Linked DNA regions of Homo sapiens: all the other regions are linked to region 4. The links are contacts of gene promoters, found by promoter capture Hi-C in blood cells and fetal thymus (Javierre and others, 2016). All regions are on one chromosome and are shown on one strand. The core of a region is centred on a gene start or on the middle of the fragment in contact, and the rest is flanking DNA. Distances in the headings are between cores, read along the strand shown.

What was found. The method cuts DNA at HindIII sites, captures the fragments that hold promoters and counts their contacts. A CHiCAGO score of 5 or more calls a contact.
Region 1: a fragment that was not itself captured here is called in contact with the fragment with the promoter of KRT33B in region 4 in 2 of 17 cell types (naive CD8 T cells and total CD4 T cells); the score reaches 5.1 in naive CD8 T cells.
Region 2: a contact is called between a fragment that was not itself captured here and the fragment with the promoter of KRT33B in region 4, in 3 of 17 cell types (non-activated CD4 T cells, total CD8 T cells and naive CD4 T cells). The highest score is 5.2, in non-activated CD4 T cells.
Region 3: a fragment that was not itself captured here is called in contact with the fragment with the promoter of KRT33B in region 4 in 6 of 17 cell types (total B cells, naive B cells, fetal thymus and 3 more); the score reaches 7.0 in total B cells.
Region 5: a fragment that was not itself captured here is called in contact with the fragment with the promoter of KRT33B in region 4 in 1 of 17 cell types (activated CD4 T cells); the score reaches 5.6 in activated CD4 T cells.

Annotation. Positions count from the first base shown.
Region 1 is chr17:41,057,658-41,060,357 of GRCh38, reverse strand. KRTAP2-3 (keratin associated protein 2-3) reads left to right here and starts at 244. Exons shown (of 1, transcript NM_001165252.2): 1 at 244-1,118. The coding sequence starts at 308. The coding sequence ends at 694. RefSeq lists enhancers at 1-499, 500-1,074. The HindIII fragment of the contact is 1,173 bases long and covers 746-1,918 here.
Region 2 is chr17:41,108,198-41,110,897 of GRCh38, reverse strand. LOC124904002 (a long non-coding RNA gene) reads right to left here and starts at 2,666. Exons shown (of 2, transcript XR_007065754.1): 1 at 2,519-2,666; 2 at 1-894. The HindIII fragment of the contact is 4,149 bases long and covers 1-2,700 here.
Region 3 is chr17:41,014,871-41,017,570 of GRCh38, reverse strand. No RefSeq gene overlaps it. Among named protein-coding and RNA genes, the nearest start is that of KRTAP3-1, 7.1 kb to the right of the region's middle. The HindIII fragment of the contact is 4,126 bases long and covers 1-2,700 here.
Region 4 is chr17:41,368,544-41,371,243 of GRCh38, reverse strand. KRT33B (keratin 33B) reads left to right here and starts at 1,431. Exons shown (of 7, transcript NM_002279.5): 1 at 1,431-1,841. The coding sequence starts at 1,494. The HindIII fragment of the contact is 2,505 bases long and covers 322-2,700 here.
Region 5 is chr17:41,076,765-41,079,464 of GRCh38, reverse strand. No RefSeq gene overlaps it. Among named protein-coding and RNA genes, the nearest start is that of KRTAP4-7, 6.0 kb to the left of the region's middle. The HindIII fragment of the contact is 3,521 bases long and covers 1-2,700 here.

The DNA.
Region 1 (2,700 bases), core at 83-2,582, 310 kb after region 4:
AAGGACTAGCTGATAGATGAGCAATTGTTCTGATGATATACATGACCAGGTATTCCGTTCTAGGGAAAAAGTAGACAGGTAGAAAACAAAGCATTCTTTAGTGATTTAGGGATCGCTGCCTCAGCAGTTAAATCCAGAGTTCTCATTTCAACGGGCAGCTACAACTCCAGGAAATGACCTCATGTCCTGGGGGTCATCAGCATCCAGCTAGGATATATAAAGGGCCCAGAGTGGAACGAGGACATTCACACCTGAGAACATCCAGCTCCTCTCAACAGCCCAACCCACACCAGCCTCAGACACCACCATGACCGGCTCCTGCTGCGGCTCCACCTTGTCCTCCCTGAGCTACGGGGGAGGCTGCTGCCAGCCCTGCTGCTGCCGCGACCCCTGCTGCTGCCGCCCCGTGACCTGCCAGACCACCGTGTGCCGCCCCGTGACCTGCGTGCCCCGCTGCACGCGCCCCATCTGCGAGCCCTGCCGCCGCCCGGTGTGCTGCGACCCCTGCTCCCTGCAGGAAGGCTGCTGCCGCCCCATCACCTGCTGCCCCTCGTCGTGCACGGCTGTGGTGTGCAGGCCCTGCTGCTGGGCCACCACCTGCTGCCAGCCTGTGTCTGTGCAGTCCCCCTGCTGCCGGCCTCCCTGCGGCCAGCCGACCCCTTGCAGCACCACCTGCAGGACCTCCTCCTGCTGAGACCCCACCTCTCCTCTCAACGCACGAAACATTCCCAGGTGCACAGAAGCTTGTGCAGACTCTTCTACCCCTTCTGGATCAGATGAGAGACTCCACCTTTGCAGCCTAGCTGATCCTCAAGCACGAATTCAACAATAACATCCTATCTATTTCCCCACATAATTATGCAGCTAATCCTGGCCCTCTCTGACAATCTTGAGAAAAATTCCAGCTTTCATCATTCGAATTCCTGGCTTGAAAAAAAAAACGAGTAAATAAAAATCAAAGCTCCTCTTGAATAGAACTCTGTCCCACTGACTCATCACCCTTTTTTCTACTGTTTCAAGGTTCTCAGATGAGATTTTTTTCTTCCAGGATAATACTATTTGTATGCTGTATTTTTGCACTGTAAAAAAAAATAAAATTATATTTCTGGGGAAGCAAACATTTCTTTTTATTTATTGTTTATTGCTCTTCAAAAGCTCATATTTAGCTTACATTACAGCATGCAGAACCAGAAGAACGAAAGGAGAGATTTTCTAAGGGCCATTTTTGAGCTTTAGAATAGGAACAACTCAGGTGGAAGGTCTATAATTTTAATAGCATTTCAAATAAATCTGATCATCTCATGATTCACCTTCATATTTCGAGTCGCAGGTTTTATGGTGATGCTGACGAAATGGTGAGACTACAGTAGGTCTCTGTAAACATAAACTTGACTTATGAATAATTCACACACATGATAAGGGGGAGGAAGTCTAAGCTAAGTTATAGCCCTATTTGTTCACCAATGTAGGAAACTGTACGGTAATTGATGTCAAACAAGACCTGGGAATCCCTAGCCACTGAACATCCTATGCTGGAGGAACCACTATCCCATCTTCTCCATGGTTCCCGTCAGCACCACCATGGCCAGTTCTACTTCCAGTGGAGTGGCTGCTGCTGAGAAGACAGGGAGAAATGAAGCCTTGGTTGTAATCATCCTAGTTTTGAGCTCCGCATACATCTTAACCATTTAAACAACTGCAATGCGGTTGAAATGCTGATAACATTAATCCATACTGCATATATTTTTGATTTTGTTAAATACTTGTATGTTGGTAAGGAAGGCTAACCACTATCATTTTCCTGATAAATATCTTTTTAGTTCCTAGCATGTGATAGAAAAGAGATTTCTTTGATTGTTCAGCATGTATTCCTGGGCATATCTACCTGCCCATTGAGAGAAGTGAGGCAAGGGAAGCTTTGTGAGGGCAGGGGTCTTTAGTCTTTTTAATTTAAATTTATTTCAAGTTCAGGGGTACATGTGCACGTTTGTTATATAGGTAAATTGTGTGTCACAGGGTTTTGGTATACAGATTATTTCATCACCCAGGTAATAAGCATAGTAACAGATGGCCAGGTGCAGTGGCTCAAGCCTGAAATCCCAGCACTTTGGGAGGCTGAGATGGGTAGGTCACTTGAGGCCAGGAATTCAAGACCATCCTGGCCAACATGGTGAAACCCTGTCTCTACTAAAAATACAAAAAGTAGCTGGGCATGGTGGCATGCGCCTGTAATCCAAGCTACTCAGGAGGCTGAATCAGGAGAATCGCTTGAACCTGGGAGGCAGAGGCTTTGGTGAGACAAGGTTGCGCCACTGCACTCCTGCCTGGGTGACAGAGTGAGACTCTGTCTCAAAACTTAATTAATTAATTAATTTAATTAAACAAAAGCATAGTAACAGATAGATGGTTTTTTTATCCTCACCCTCTTCCCACCATCTGCCCTCAAGTAAGCTTCAGTATCTGTTGTTCCCTTATTTGTGTCCATATGTACTCAATGTTTAGCTACCACTTATAAGTGAGAACATGCCGTATTTGGTTTTCTGTATCTGTGTTAGTTTGCTTAGGATAATGGCCTCCAGCTTCATCCACATTGCTACAAAGGACATAATTTCCTTTTTTATGGCTGTATAGTATTCCATGGTGTATGTGTACCACATTTTCTTTATCCAGTCCACCCTTGATGGGTATTTAGGTTGATTC
Region 2 (2,700 bases), core at 197-2,696, 260 kb after region 4:
CTGGCAATTTTTAAGACATGTCTAATATTACTTTACCAATAATTTTAAAGCTAGCTTATTTATTAAAGATTTTACTTGTTACATAAACTTCAGAAAGCATTCAACTAGTCTTTTCTTTTTTCCTGATAAAGTATTAGATTCAAGTGCTTTTTATCTTAAGCCAATTAATTAGAACTCTTTTATATATTTTCAGTAGCGAGAAATTGTGTACACATCACATAAATATATAGACATAGTAGGCATGCTGATAGAAGTACATCGTATAGATACTTAAGGAGCTTTTTTCCCCTATCTTAGGCTTTCAAATTCTTAATAACCTGTTTTACTCCCCTAGGGAGTTGTCAGCTAAATAGCCTTAAGTTTGCATGTTAAAGGAAACAACTCAGGCAAAAATCAAATAGCAAAATTATATCATAAGGTACAGAGAGAAAAAGTCTGGTGGTGCTAGAGGGAAGTCAAAATGGATTTAATTGCCAATTAAACATAAAATTATAAAAATTATAAAGGCCTTTTAAATAGATACACACACACACACACACACACACACAAACACACACACAGAAATCCTATAGCTTTTACTTCAGAACTTTAGCCATGAGACAAATACAAATTCACCAGGTTGCAAACAAAAAGCCTGTTGTATCCAAACAGTGGTTTTGATCTTAATAGAAAAATAACAGCAGATTTAAAGCAGGCAGAAAAGAAAATAGAGAAAAAAGAGAACTTAGGAACTCTGTAGTTTGTAGGTTGACCTTAAGGCTCTTCTTTTCTTTCTTTTTCTTTTCTTTCTTTCTTTCTTTCTTTCTTTCTTTCTTTCTTTCTTTCTTTCTTTCTTTCTTTCTTGCTTGCTTGCTTTCTTGCTTGCTTGCTTTCTTTCCTTCTTTTCTTTCTCTTCTAAAAAAAAATGAAATACACATGCAGGAGAACGTGCAGGTTTGTTACATAGGTATATGTGTGCCTTGGTGGTTTGCTGCACCTATTGACCCATCCTCTAAATTCCCTCCTCTCATTCCCCACCCCCCAACAGCCCCTGATATGTGTTGCTCTCCTCTCTGTGTCCATGTGTTCTCAAAGTTCAACTCCCATATATGAGTGAGAACATGTTGTATTTGGTATTCTGTTTCTGTGTTAGTTTGCTGAGGATGATGGTTTCCAGCTTCATCCATGTCCCTACAAAGGACATGATCTCACTCCGTTTTATGGCTGCATCGTATTCCATGGTGTATATGTACCACATTTTCTTTATCAAGTCTATAATTGATGGGCGTTTGGGTTAGTTCCATGTCTTTGCTCTTGTAAATAGTGCTGCAATAAACATACATGTGCCTGTGTCTTTATAGTAGAATGATTTGTATTCCTTTGGGTATATAACAAGTAATGGGATTGCTGGATCAAATGGTATTTCTGATTCTAGATCCTTGAGGAATCACCATACTGTCTTCCACAATGGTTGAACTAATTTACATGGGCCCTTTCTTTCTTAATGTAAATATGCACAAAGACCATATTACTTCCATTTTACTTAAACTCTGGCAAGTACAGGTGCCATAAAACCTATGGAGTGCTTGAAAGGGAATCATTCTCTTTGCTTTCTCCTCATTCTTAGATTATTTGTTTCCCAGTTTTCTTCTTAAAAAGAGGAACTGAGCTGAGGCCTAGAGGTTTTCTGTGGTGGATCAATATGTGCCATTTGTGGGCAGGACTCCACAGTGGGTCACCACTGAAAACAACAGTTCAGTTCCTCATGCAAATGCACACAGACAAGCTGAATTGAGCTTAATTTGGGGAGAAAAAGCAACAGAGAAGATCCTTTAGAATGCATTTGTGAACTAGAATTAGGATCTTTAAACGACAAATTCCTAGAAGGAAAACAAAACAACAGCCAAGACCACTTTTTGTAAACCTTGCTCAGCCACCCCTTAACTTTGTAGCTCTCATCTACCACTATACACAACAAGGTCAAAGCCAAAGAGGTCAGGTCATGCAATACAGGAAAATAGAGGTTTAGAGTTAAGAAGAATCTACCCATGACTCTTGAAACTCCACAAAGAAAACAAAACACCCCAAAAGGGGTGAGTGGCAACCTTTGTTCTGAATTCTTTAAGGGGGTTCAAGTCATTAGAAGCCTTCTCTAGACTTTTTGGTACTGCATATGGCAAAGGGGGAGGAGGTATATGGTGCAAGAAAAGTAAACGAAAGAACATTCGTGTTTTAAGACAGGAAGCAAACACAGAAACCAAGTGCATGGGTTTTTGGTTCTTTTTGTTTGTTTTCTTCTTTTGCAGCTGCAATGAATTTTAGCCAAATTAGAGAGGTTTTGTTACCCGTAATTTTGAATTCTCACTTGGATTTGACCAAGTCAGGTAGAGTTGGTCAAGTCTGATGGGAGAAAGACCAAAACAAACAACAAAATCTCCAACCATAGGATTACCAAGCACTCTAATGATAAGGAGAAATTAAGAGCAGCTAGCTGGTTGTTAAACTTTAGCCCAGACAAAGCCCCAGTTCAGCTACTTACCTAGGGATGGGTCTCAGGCTGAAGGCTGCTTTCTACCACCCTAGAAGCAGGAAAAAAACTCAAACTGGTCTTCCCTGCTGGGAGTGAGCTCAAACTCTACATGCCTTTCATCATCATGGAAGCAGGAAATCTTGCCTTCCTTGTAAAGGAAGTAAAAGTAAATCTTGCCTTCCTTATAAGGA
Region 3 (2,700 bases), core at 31-2,530, 350 kb after region 4:
TATGGGATAGAGAAACAGGAGTGGTAGAATACACAACATGAAAATCAAAATTCCTGGCTTTTAATGGGTTAATATTTAACATACAAAATTTCGACTTTTATTTTCTCAATTTTTTAATATCTTATTTATTTTAGTTGCATGAATGAAACAAACGAGATATTTTCCCAAAAGGATCAGAGAAATCTTGGTCCAAATGGGGCCAGAGTAAAGAACTACAATTATGTTATCTCTAAGACAGTACTGACTTGTTCAAAAGATGACACCTGTGACCCTGGAAAAAAAAGATCCTAGTGGGCTGATAACCTTACGGTAGGAAGAAGGGAAAGAACTCAGGATTTTCAGAGCAACTGAAGCCAGGAAGCATGAGGAAGTTTGAGAAGAGTTAGAGATGGCAGAGGTTGACAGCAACAGCCACAAAAAACTCTGAACAGAAGGAAATTCAACGTTCTCTATTCAGGAGAGGTTGAGGGAGACAAAACAATAGAATCCTAGAGATAGAATTCAGGAAACTCTGAGGTTAACATTTTTGCCCTTTACTCCAACGCTTGTTGGTTTAGTGATCAGAAGGGACCAAACAGAAAGAGAACTGCACAAAAGCCAGGGATAGTAGTTAGAGGGAACCAGAAGCTGAGACTAGAAGTCATACAAAACACTTGTTTTGTGTGTTAACGTGTACTAAGCAAAACAAACTTGTTATGTTGTTTCTCAGGGGTCCCCAAGCCCCGGGTTGCAGAGCGATACCTGTCCCTGGCCTGTTAGGAACTGGATCACATGGCAGGAGGTGAGCAGCCGAGGAGCAAGTGTTCCCACCTGAGCTTTGCCTCCTGTCAGCTCAGCAGATCGGCGGTGGCATTAGATTCTCACAGAAGCGCAAAGCCTATTGTGAACCGCACGTGCGAGGGATCAAGGTTGCACGTTCCTTGTGAGAATCTGTCTGAGGTGGGACAGTTTCATCCCAAAACCATCCCACCTTCATCCCACCCACAGTCCATGGAAAAATTGTCCTCCATGAAACCGGTCCCTGGTGTCAAAAAGAATGGGGACTGCTATTGTATTTGAGTATAGGTTGACACTTTAATCACTCTGAAGATGTTTTTAACTGTAGGAAGGGGCAGAGAGTGGGATGAGAAAGGAATCAGAAGACCTGAGTTTAAAATCCCAACTCTACTCACTCACTGACTGTGACCTTAGACAAGTCTTCTCAGAAGCTCAGTTTTTGTCTTCTATATCAAATGGGGGTTCTAATATGTCACAGTATTGCTGTGAATAACAAATAAGGTTATTAATAGTAATATGCCTGGCATATAGTAGGTGCTCCAGAAATTTTATTTTCTATTCCTCTTCTCCACTCAAGTGTATGTCTTCAGGAGCAGAAAGCCCTTTTGGCTATGGAGAGGATAGCATGAGCCAGATAGTCATGTGTGGAAAATAGCTTTAAAAATAGGAAGAGCATTGCTCAGGGTGATGTTGTATTCCATTTGAATAAAATGGATCACATAAAAATGGTCATCTCATTCTCAGTCCAAGCGCTTCATAGTAAGCACAGTTTTCATCTATATGTTGGAGCCTTCCAAATCTTCACCTCCAGCACTGAGCGTGGTGTACTCTCGAAAATCAAAACACACAATATTAGTGGGAACGTTTATCTCATGTTATCTTCCTCCTTTCTGCTCTTTTCATCCCAATGGACTCAGATGTCAAATTTCCACTCAGGAAAACTGACCGGCTATAATTACAAGCTGTTGCAATACATCTTATTCTACAGAGGAAATTTTTAACTGTATCAAAATATAAATTGTGTCACTTCATGTAAATCACAGATAGTAATAAGAAAGAATGAGGAAGAAGTCACGCTCAAGCAGCTAGAGCATTTCTTCAGTCCCCTCTGAGTAATAAATCCTGCTAGGCGTTTGTGATGACTGCCTCCTGAAAAAGGCAACGTGGTAGAGGGGACATGAGGAGTGCACACTGCTTACCAGTGATCTCACAGGGTTCCAGCAAAGCAAGGTCGAGGGGCACAGTTTGCTTTTTGGAGGCGGGGTCTTCACTGGTTACAAAAACTATAATGAAGACTATCAACAGGCAGGCTTTCCAGGCGTGGGAAACCTAAAAGCTAAACTCCCAAATTTAGCCCTAGATTCCCTATCGTCGGAGAGAAAGAATACCTGAAAATGACGGGGAAGAAAAAAGCTCCAGCCTCCCTCTGCTTATTTAGTAACAACAATCACACCTATTAGAATCATTTATTGAGGACTTACTATGTTCCAGGCACTGCATTGCACATTTTAATGCTTTCTTTAATTTATTCTTTAAACATCCTATCAATGTGATAGTAACATTAGCCATATTTACAAATGACGGAGTTAAAGAGGTAACTTCCTGCCTTAGAAAAATATATACCAGTGGTTCTCCATGGGTCTACTTAATTCAAGTTCAAACACCTCATCCTGGGGTCAAGACTCTACATCTTGCTTTTATCTCACACAATTGTTCTCTAGACACAGCGCACTATTCATGGCTTCCTAACAACCATTTGTTCTTTTCCACTTCTATGCATTTACTGCTGCTGTTCCCTATAGCTGGAATGCCTTCCTACTCCTCTGCCTTGCATTCAAGCCCTGTGTACCCTGCGAATCCCAGTAAATTCTCAGATATTTAAGAGTACACCATGTCCTGCTTGTCCTTGAATGCCTTAAATCT
Region 4 (2,700 bases), core at 182-2,681:
GGAATGGCAGGTCACCTGTAGGAAAAGAATTCTTGTATGGCAAGACTTAATATGTAGCTTCCAAAAGGAACAACTTGGAGGAGTATCTTTCAGAATTTGAGCACTGATAGATTAAACATAAAATCCTCATATTTCATAGTTCCATCTGGAATGCATGAGAGTAGAGCATCTGCTTGCCAAAATGTGCCAATGGTCATAAAATGCCACTTCATGCACATGACATAGTGGTGGATTTTCAGGGTCATATCCTTTGGAGAGCTAGGCTTGGGTATTTCTCCCTCAGATCAACCAAGGGTTTCCTTTTTTTTTTTTTTTCAAGCTTCTAGTGGGTATGAGGCATTTTCACTTAGTAAACTTCCTTCCTTCAGCATAGAAGTGACTTTTGGTTCTTTAATAAGTAAAAAACAGGCTTGTTATTTTTTGGCCCATTCTAATTTAGGATATTGTCAGCACTGATTGAGCTCAATGGAGCTCAATCTGTATTTTTTGCATTATTGCATCTCAGTACTGAAAAGATTGGAAGAGAGAGACATGTAATATGACAGAGTGTGGACATTGGAATTAGAGAGATCTGTATTTGAACCCTGGCTCCATCATGTAGGAGCTCTGTGACCTTGGGAGACCTCTCAGAGGCTTAGGGTCCTTATCTACAAACCCTTGCAGCATTTTGAGAGGACTGAAGGAGCTGGTGCATATGAGGTGCCTGGCACTGTGCCTGGTGCACAGTGGAGGCTCAGCAAGCAGGACCCATCACCAATGACAGAGTCACGCTGTGCACAGGCATGGAGCACAGTGCTTCATGCAGAGTAGGTGCTCCCAAAATTTAGGTTTCTTAATGTTCTGTGAACACTGAATACTAGTAGAAACGGAGGTGGGTGGCTTCCTGCAGCCCCATAGGAAGAGGGTAGAGTTGCCTCCATCTGCCTGGATGGAACTGCAAATGGGCCTTGAACCAATGGCCTTGTAAGTCCTTTCTCATTTCAGCTTCCAGGATTCCCTATCACATAGTCTAGTTTCTAGACGGGTTTCCTTACATGGCTTTTCTCACAGAGTCTTAATTGAATATGAACTGGATGAGACACAAGCCTTTCCTCATTTAGGAGAAAGAGGCACATATGTGCCCCCTACTCTGGGGACAGGGCCCAGCTGTCACTCTAGCTCAATGTCCCATGGATAAGCACTGCTACAGGCAAGGTTGGTCACTTTGAAGCCAAACCATGAAGCTCTTACTTAACCAATCAGCATGTTTTGTGAGGAGTCCTGACTTAGCAAGAAGCCAGAGTAAAACATTTAATGAGGTATAGGACTCAGGTGAAGTGGCTAAATAACAAATGGAAAAATCAGCAAAGGAGGTAAAAAGGAGGAATACTTGACATGGTTGCCACACCCACTGCTAACAGAATATAAAGCCCTGGAAAGGACCAAGGCTTATCCCAGGGAAAAGGAATCAGGTTTTGAAACTGACTTCCAGAGCTCCACTGCCTCCCTGCACCATGCCCTACAACTTCTGCCTGCCCAGCCTGAGCTGCCGCACCAGCTGCTCCTCCCGGCCCTGTGTGCCCCCCAGCTGCCACGGCTACACCCTGCCCGGGGCCTGCAACATCCCTGCCAATGTGAGCAACTGCAACTGGTTCTGCGAGGGCTCCTTCAATGGCAGCGAGAAGGAGACTATGCAGTTCCTGAACGACCGCCTGGCCAGCTACCTGGAGAAGGTGCGTCAGCTGGAGCGGGACAACGCGGAGCTGGAGAACCTCATCCGGGAGCGGTCTCAGCAGCAGGAGCCCTTGCTGTGCCCCAGCTACCAGTCCTACTTCAAGACCATTGAGGAGCTCCAGCAGAAGGTGAGGAGGTGGGCACCACACTGCCAGCTTAATGAACTACTTATCTATATTTGACATACTAAACTGTGAATGGATCTAAGTCTGTTCACAGTAATGCTGAGAATGATAAAGACATAGATTCACTGGCTTAGGTATGACATCAAGTAGTCTTAGAAAATCTGTTGTAGAGCCACAAAGGAAGGATGCAGGCTGGTGTTAGAGTGAAGCATTAGACCAAAATCAGTCATAGCAATCTTATATGGCGTCTTACTCCAAACCAGAATATCTGATTTTTTGGTTTGATTATGATACCCTGGTTTTGTTTTCAGAGCATTACCGCATTTTCAAAAAGTATGCACCTGAATTATTTTCTATGCTAAGAATTTCCTAAGTAAATCTTCAAATATTTAAAGCCTTTCAAAGCTGTAGCAAAATATAGCATTTATGGCAACACAAGAGAGCTGTTGACTCCAGCAATATCTACAGACACATGGACCATCCTCTAGAGCAGCCATGTGTACAGATGACAATATGGGGCCATCTGTTCTGGAAGAGAAGTAGATATAAGTAAAGAGTCCACAGAGAATTGGGACTGAATACCTGGTGTAGGTTTGGGAGGGATCCCAGAAGAGGCAATGTCTGAGTGGGGTTTGAAGGATGAGTGGGAGTTTATATCCAATTGTACAAGCCCTTGATTCTGGGAGGGAATTGACTGCCCACTGTTCTGTAGATCTGGAAAATTAGATGCCAGAAAGGGGTTGTGCTATTTGAATATCATTCATTTATTTACCCAGAGTTGGAGAGTGTTAGGCACAGTGCTGGGGTGGGGGATAATGTACTGAGTAAGACAGTCTCCTTCCTTCAGGAGCTCACAGTCTAA
Region 5 (2,700 bases), core at 90-2,589, 290 kb after region 4:
AATAAGATTTTGTTGTATGATGATCAATTATAGCAAGAAATTTAGGAAGCGTAGGAGATATTCAGGACATTGTCCTAATTCTTTTCTATGATGTAACCTGATCATCAGAATTTCAGGTAATATGTTAGTCAAGTAATGAATTATTGCCCCAACACACAATACTCCTAGGAATACATAATGCCAATAGAATAGAATAGAGCAAAAGTGAATCACTAATGCCACAGTCTTCAATGTTCAGAATATTCACAGGGTCATGTAGGGATTGGCTTAGGGCCTTGAAGAGCCCTGTGTGACTCACAGGTGGGATCACAATAGCAGGTCCATGTGCGCAGATGAGCTTTATATTGGTCAGAAATGTTCTTTTGGAAGGTCTTTGTTGGGTTTGATATAATCGGAAATTAGGAGTCCTATACAGCTATAGATCATCATTCACTTATCTATTCAACAATGGTGAGAACTCTCTCATTCTGTTCTACAGACTATGCAGGAACCTCCATTCTACTTGTTCTTTAAGACTTAGGTGCTATTACCTCCACAAGCAAACCTTTCCTGATGCTCTCTGCCCAAGCCACCTCTCCCTTAAGTTGCCCTCTTCTAAGATCCTGGCAGCATGTTTCTCATGTGTTTCATATTGTTGAATTTATTGTTAGCTTTTTGAAAGCTCTTTGGAGATATAATTGACAAGTAAAAATTGCATATATTCAAGGTGTACAAAATAATGTTTTGATATACATATACATTGTGAAATAGATGACCACAATCAAACTAATTAACATATCAATCACCTCACATAGTTATTCTTTTTGTGGTGAAAATACTTATGTTCTAGCAAATTTCAAGTGTACAATACAGTATTGTTAACTATAGTCACATTGCCATACATTCAATTTCCAGAACTTACTGATTTTGGATAGCTGAAACTTTATACTCTTTGACCAACGTCTACCCGTTTCTTCCTCATTCCACCCCATGCAACCACCATATAAGTCAGATCATGCAGTATCGGTCTTTGTGTGTCTAGCTTATTTCACTTAGCTTAATGTCCTCTGGGTTCATCCATGTTGTTATAAATGACAGGATTTTCTTCCTTTTAAAGGCTGAATTGCATTTTGAATAATGACATTTATATACATTTTCTTTATCCACTCATCTGTGGATGGGCATATAGATATTTCTGTATCTTAGTAGCTGTGAATAATGCTGCAATGTACATACAAGTGCAGATATCTTCAAGATAGTGATTTTATTTACTTTGGATATGTATCCAGAAGTGGAATTGCTGGTTCACAGGTGAGTTCTATTTTTAATTTTTTGAGGAGCCTCCATACTGTTTTCCATAATGGCTGCATCAAGTTACATTCCCACCAACAATGTATAAGAGTTCCCTTTACACCACATCCTTGCCAACACTTATCTTTTGACTTTTTGATAACAGCCATCCTAACAGGCATGAGGTAATATCTTATTGTGGTTTTCATTATCACTTCCCTGATGATTAGTGACGTTGAGCACCTTTTCAAAGACTACATTTGACAGTAATTTAGAATTCTCAGGTCAATTGGGAAGTTGGAACACAAAGGGAGAGGAAGAATGGTGGCTGTTGGATAGAGAGGGATGTAAGAGCTAAATTCTCATCACACATAACAGTGGGCCAATAGATAATATCTAAACTTTAAAAGTCAAGAAATAGTACTGTAACCACACCATTTAGAAAGATCTTTTTTCCTAGAGTTCTCCCTCCAAAATCTTCATCTTACTGTTCTCCTCTGCACTGATTGCTTTCTAGGCTTGCTGTACGGTTGCCATTTTTGGATTTATCTTGAATGCAATTCTGATTTTCCGACTTGAAATTCCTGTTTTCTGAATCTGTGTTCTCCTCTTTGTCAACTTCTTCTTCATGTTGGTGGTGCACATCCTCCAGACGTTACTTTAGAAAGGGTTCACGGACAATAAGGATTTTTTTGGGCTTTTCATATCTGAAAATGTTACTATTCCTTTGTTTCTGTTTGGTAGTTTGGCCAGGCATGGAATTCTAGGCTAAAAAACATCCCACTGAGAAATTTTAAGGCATTTCCCATTGTCTTCTGGCTTCCGGTGTTGATGTTGAAAAGTGTGATGCCATTTCGCCTCCTGAACCTTGGTATGGGAACCACATATTATTTTCCTCATTGGACGCTTTCAGTACCATTTTCATATCCCTAATATTCTGAGATTTCACAGTGATGTATCTTGATGTAAGCCTTACATTCACTGTTCTCAGCGCTGGTGGTCTTTTAATCTGGAGCTCCCTTCTGAAAGAAATTTTCTTATACTATTTCTTTGATAGTTTTCTCCCTTGTATTTCCTTCCTTCCTTCTTCTTTCCTTCCCTCCCTCCCTTCCTCTTTCTCTATTTCCCTTTCTTCCTGTCTTCCTTCCTTTCTTTTTCTTCCTTGTCTTTCTTTCTTTTCCTTCCTTCCTCTTTCTCTTTCTTTCTCTCCTTTCCTTCCTCCCTCTCTTCTTTCCTTCCTTCCTCCCTCCTTCCTTCCCTTCTTCCTTCCTTCCCTTCTTCCTTCCTTCCCTTCTTCCTTCCTTCTCTTCCTTCCTTCCCTTCTTCCTTCCTTCCCTTCTTCCTTTCTTCCTTTCTTTCTTTCTTTCTTTCTTTTTCTTTCTTTCTTTCTTTTCTTTCTCTTTCTCTCTCTCTCTTTCTCTCTCTCTTTCT